2 separate regions of the Homo sapiens genome follow, and region 1 is linked to region 2. The links are contacts of gene promoters, found by promoter capture Hi-C in human tissues and cell types (Jung and others, 2019). All regions are on one chromosome and are shown on one strand. The core of a region is centred on a gene start or on the middle of the fragment in contact, and the rest is flanking DNA. Distances in the headings are between cores, read along the strand shown.

Region 1 (2,700 bases), core at 52-2,551, 580 kb after region 2:
TGGAGCTGCCCACGGTGTTGGTGACGCCCACGGTGAGAGCGCCGCGGTCCTTACAGTAGCGCAGCGCCAGGAGGGTGTCCGCGGTCTCGCCTGCCGCCCAGGGGCCCTCTCAGTGCCGCGCTCCGCCAGCCTCGGCCCCACCCCAAACCCCTTCCTCCTTCACCGCCGGCTCTTACAGGGAAATCGGCGCCCGAGACACAGCCAGCGGGTGTTCAGAAAGGAAAACGCTCGCTCAACAGCCTTTTCGGTTGATTCTTACATTCAAGGTGTGTTACTATTTGTGGCAAGCATCTTTTCATTTAAATCTCGTGACAACCCCGTGAGGACCATCGTCCCCATTTTCCTCTTGAGGATGAGGGCTCAGAGACAGGAGGAAACCGGTGCTCTGATCAAAGCCATACAGCTGGTGACAGGTGGGCTTGGCTCCCAGCGCCCTCTCTGCAACTGAATAAGCTGCCTTATTCAGAACGTGCTGAGATGGAACAGATTTAACATCTGACAAGCAGGAATGTCCCCAAGTGGTGTTTCTCAGCTAGATCCTGTTTGAAAGGACACTTCTTGCAAGCCTCTCAGTGTGGACTCAAATTGTTTTTAGAATAAAGCTAAACAGCTTCATGCATAAACCAGCACAAGCTCCCTATGTTTGTGAGTCCTAAAGCACTCAAATTAAATTCAGCATAAGCCAGACTATAAAATCAAAACTGTTGAAATCCTCATGAGTCGGGAGGCTGTTCTGTTTGCAGGGCCACTGCTCTTGGCTGTGTCTGTCCCAGCTTTGCAGGGCAGGCAGGTGCCGCCCGGTGCTAGGTGGCCCAATTCTCCTCTGCTTTTCTTTCTTCAGAGCCCTGGGTTATGGCACTGGAGTGTCACGGGGTACTGCGGTGAGGGTGCGGGAAAGGGGGTTCTAACTTCTGTCACCCGCGCCCTAGGGTTCGATAGTGTTTTTTCAATCTCATTAAAGGGCTGACTTCTATACACACAGAGATTCGGAAGCTGCCACTGCATTATTTTCATATTAGCTCCACCTCTGTTCTTTTGTTAATGTCTCCCACCAATTTATAAAATAGTCTGAGGCTCTGGTGGGATCAGAAACCCAAAGGTGAACACGGCAGCAGCTCCTGCGTCATAAGGTGGTGGGCCGGATGGTCGGTGTATCTGTACTGGTTTTTCTTCACTTGTCAACAAAATGGAAATGGTATTTAAAATGGAAAATGGCAGGAGTACTAAAAGTCCTAATAGATGATAGGGCATTACAATCAGTATTTTAGTTGTGGTAGTAACACCGTGGTCATACGTTTTTCTTTTTCTTTTTTTTTTTTTTGAGACGGAGTCTCGCTCTGTCGCCCAGGCTGGAGTGCAGTGGCGCGATCTCAGCTCACTGCAAGCTCCGCCTCCCGGGTTCACGCCATTCTCCTGCCTCAGCCTCCTGAGTAGCCGGGACTACAGGCGCCCGCCACCACGCCCGGCTAATTGTTTTATATTTTTAGTAGAGACGGGGTTTCACTGTGTGAGCCAGGATGGCCTCAATCTCCTGACCTCGTGATCCGCCCACCTCAGCCTCCCAAAGTGCTGGGATTACAGGCGTGAGCCACCGCGCCCGGCCGGTTATATGTTTTTCTTTTGTCATTTTAATCATGCAGCCTGAAGTATTTATATGGATGAATATCATGATGCCCGGGATTGGCTTCAAAGTAACCCCATGGAGACGAGGGGTTAATATGAGTGTGTCCGACCGGCACAAGATGGGCTGGATAAGGCTAGGATATTCATTATATGAAAATTCTACTTTTATAAAGGCTTGGAATTATCCGTAATTAAAACATTTCAAAAATCTTCCACGAGCTCAAGGAGACTCCAAGCCTATGGCCCTGGATCACCTCCCTGAGACAGCTGGAGCAAATGTCAAGCCCAGTGTTGGGATGGCACCAGATGGGGTGCATGTAGCTTGGGAGACCTTCCTTGGCCCTAAAAGGGAGCACTGTCTCCCCCACACCTCCCCCTGCTGGGCAGCATGGGCACTGCATGCCACAGGCAGCTCGGCTTGGACACTTGGGCACAGAGCCCATACTGGGTCCTCCACGTGACTCTCAACCTAACAAAATGTTAAAGGAGATGCTTTTTCTATTAACATAAATCAGCAAACATTTATGAGCACTTCGGTAAGTGGTCCTTGAAGTCTTGGATAGGCAAGAAGAGGGAGAAGCCACGGGGCAGGGGAAAGACTAACGTGCGTGGATTTCCAGCCCAATCCCAGCTGTCACCCCCTGACTGCATGGCCTTAGACATCTCTTGCCCTCCCCGTACAATGGCGACAGTAATCCATGGCTCTACGGGTTAAATGACCGCTGCAAGAGAGGGTTCGCAGCACAGGGTAGCCATGCAGAGGACTTAACTGAATGAAGGAGAAGAGGAGAGAGCCCAGAGCTGACCTGATGCAAGGCTGGCCACAATGCCTGTGTCCCTTACCTGACTGGCTGATGAAAAAGCAAACGTCATCCCTGAACACAGGTGTGTTCCTGTCCAGAAAATCACTAGCAAGTTCAACCATCACAGGAAGCTCAGTCAGTTCCTCCAAAACTTGCCGCGTCTGAAGCCAACAAGCAAGCATGGAGACTAAAGTCAGTCACAGGCACGACAGGGACATGGGGCAGCTGGGCTTCTAGGGACAGTTTGTGACACGGAACCTCACTGTCCAGGTGG
Region 2 (2,700 bases), core at 60-2,559:
GCCTTGGTGGCCCACTTTCTCCATTTAAAACATTAGGATTTGTATTTTTCTGCTGCGTTTGTATGAAGACATATTTGATTGTTGTTTTCTCTTGATTTTAAAATAAAACCTCATGAGCCCTAGTAAAAAGCTAGAGTAACGAATGTTTGAACTACTGATGGTGTATCTCAATGTGCAGCCTCCTGCCACCTCCTGCTTAACCTTTTAGCAATTAGAGTGCCCATATCTAGAGTTCCTGATATCCTTTGGCATCACACTATCTAGTTTTAGTACTAACACTGTTTGATTGCTCCAGTCCCTCTACTCCCCTTTGCCTATTAGTTTTAATAATGGGGCATAATTTGTCTTGGTTTGGTTTTGTTGAGTAACTCAGTTTTACCTAAAGGACTGTTTTTGGTCCGGCGCGGCGGCTCACGCCTGTAATCGCGGTACTTTGGCAGGCCGAGGTGGGCGGATCACCTGAGGTCAGGAGTGGGAGACCAGCCTGACCGACATGGAGACACCCCGTCTCTACTAAAAATACAAAATTAGCCGCGCGTGGTGGCGCATGCCTGTAATCCCAGCTACTGGAGAGGCTGAGGCAGGAGAATCGCTTGAGCCTGGAAGGCGGTGGTTGTGGTGAAACGTCGTCCTTTGCATTTCCAGTTCCCTCTAATGGAGCTGCACTCTTGCATGCTTTTGCTCACATCTTCTGGACTTTTTTTTTAAGTAGTGAGTAATACTGCACTTTTGAAACTTGCTCGGGCTTTTACAAATAGGTGGAAACTACCAGTGATTCGGAATGTTGCAAGAGGAAACTACCAGCTCACTAGACGATTCTGACCAATTATGGGGCTGGATACAAGGAATAAGGTCAAAGTAAAACGGCTGACATTAAAATAGCGTGGCTACTTAGAGTTTATCAAAGTCGAAATTTAAAAAATAATTTAAAAAAAAGGTCTCTGTACTGCCAGGCGGGCGACAGGGACTGGCCAGCTGCGCCGCACTCGCCTGCCAGATTCCCCTTTTCTCGGGGTAGCCGGAAGGGCCTGCCTTCAGCGGGTGCTGTGCAGGAAACCAATAGCCGCCTCTTGGACGGGCTCCTGTCAGTCACGCTTAGCTCCGCCCCCAGGATTAAGGCCCGCCCAGGGGCTTCCCTCCGCCCTTCGCTTGAGAATTCCTTTTAAATACCGCTCTGGCGCCCGAGCGCGCCTCTTGCGTGCTCGTCCCCACGCCCTCGGGCGGCCGGTTCTTCCTTCTCTGATTGGCCAGGGCCCCTGCTCATCAGTCGTGATGCACAAGGTCTCTTACCGAGGCCCCGCCTTCTTCCGAGAGGCCCGAAAACAATTTTAAGATGGCGGCCGCGGCGGTAGCGCGGAAAACAATGGGGCCGGGGCGGTGGGGAGAGGCCGAGGCTTGAGGTAGGCAGCAAGCGCCGGCTGGGGGTCGGGCCGAGCGGGGCAGGAGGAAAACCCGCCGCCGCGCGCGAGCCCGCTCCGCTGCCCTCGGGGGCATGGCGCGGCCGTGAGGCGGAGAGGGGTAGCCGCGGGGAGCGAAGCCCGCAGTGCCAGCCGGCCCCGAGAGGCCCGGCCCCGGGCCCGGCCCGTGCAGCCCGCGGCCCATGGTGCTGCCCACCTGCCCCATGGCGGAGTTCGCGCTGCCGCGGCACAGCGCGGTCATGGAGCGCCTTCGCCGGCGCATCGAGCTGTGCCGGCGCCACCACAGCACCTGCGAGGCCCGCTACGAGGCCGTGTCGCCCGAGCGCCTGGAGCTGGAGCGCCAACACACCTTCGCCCTGCACCAGCGCTGCATCCAGGCCAAGGCCAAGCGCGCCGGGAAGCACAGGCAGCCGCCCGCCGCCACGGCCCCGGCGCCCGCCGCCCCGGCCCCGCGCCTGGACGCCGCTGACGGCCCCGAGCACGGCCGCCCGGCCACGGTGAGTAGGGCGCGGGAAGGCGCTTGTCGTGGCGGCAGCCCCCTCTCCCGAAAACGCTTCCTCTGACGCGGATCGGGCCGCTGGGAGACTTCCCCAGGCGTCCGCGACTCCTGGATCTGGCTGGAGAGAGGGTAACATGGCAGGGAGCTGAGAGGTTGTCATCTTTGGGAAGTGGCACGGTGGCGTTACTTTGGGAAAACAGCGCCTTGAGGGCCTTGCAGGAGGCCCGACCTGGGAAGGCTGGCGAACGCTAACCGGAGGGTTTTTCTTCCAGACTTGATTCCGGGATGTTGAGATCTTTATTCGAAATAGACTAGCATTCGAGTCGCCTGTGATGGAGGGAGTTCCTGCACCGTAGGCCTGGCCTCATTTATTCTGCAAATGTTTATTGGGTCCTTGCCCTTTACAAGATCCTGTGCTGTGAGCAGGATCAGGGCTTTCATGTGGAAATAAGTCGGCCTTTGGTTGACCAACTGAAACTCCTCTGAATGGAAAATCAAGAAATTTTTGGAAAACTTAGTAAAATGTTCAATGAGTTGCATATAAGTATTCCTTGTTTAGGTAGCCTGAACTTTGTGAACTTGAGATTCCTGCAATATTGTTGACAATTCTAGTTTTAATTTATCAGGCCTGTTTAAAATCTCTGATGATGTTAGATTGTTGGTCAATTATTACTCCCTTTGGGCTCTCAGTAAATGTTCCTGAAATTTGTTGGTTAGAGGTTTTTCTTCCTGAAACAGATTTACAAAAGAGACAAGGTTTTTCAGTGGTTTTCTTGGGGATTT

What was found. Contacts are between HindIII fragments. The study calls those that stand out against the background at their distance.
Region 1: a fragment that was not itself captured here is called in contact with the fragment with the promoter of MAML1 in region 2 in 1 of the 25 tissues and cell types used here (hippocampus).

Annotation. Positions count from the first base shown.
Region 1 is chr5:180,313,875-180,316,574 of GRCh38, forward strand. It overlaps GFPT2 (glutamine-fructose-6-phosphate transaminase 2), which reads right to left. Exons shown (of 19, transcript NM_005110.4): 13 at 2,467-2,587; 14 at 1-90. Among named protein-coding and RNA genes, the nearest start is that of MAPK9, 23 kb to the left of the region's middle. RefSeq lists an enhancer at 1-169. The HindIII fragment of the contact is 6,418 bases long and covers 1-2,700 here.
Region 2 is chr5:179,731,513-179,734,212 of GRCh38, forward strand. MAML1 (mastermind like transcriptional coactivator 1) reads left to right here and starts at 1,310. Exons shown (of 5, transcript NM_014757.5): 1 at 1,310-1,915. The coding sequence starts at 1,601. CANX (calnexin) reads left to right here. Exons shown (of 15, transcript NM_001746.4): 15 at 1-129. RefSeq lists enhancers at 853-952, 1,714-2,214 and silencers at 1,403-1,602, 1,843-1,902. The HindIII fragment of the contact is 20,196 bases long and covers 1-2,700 here.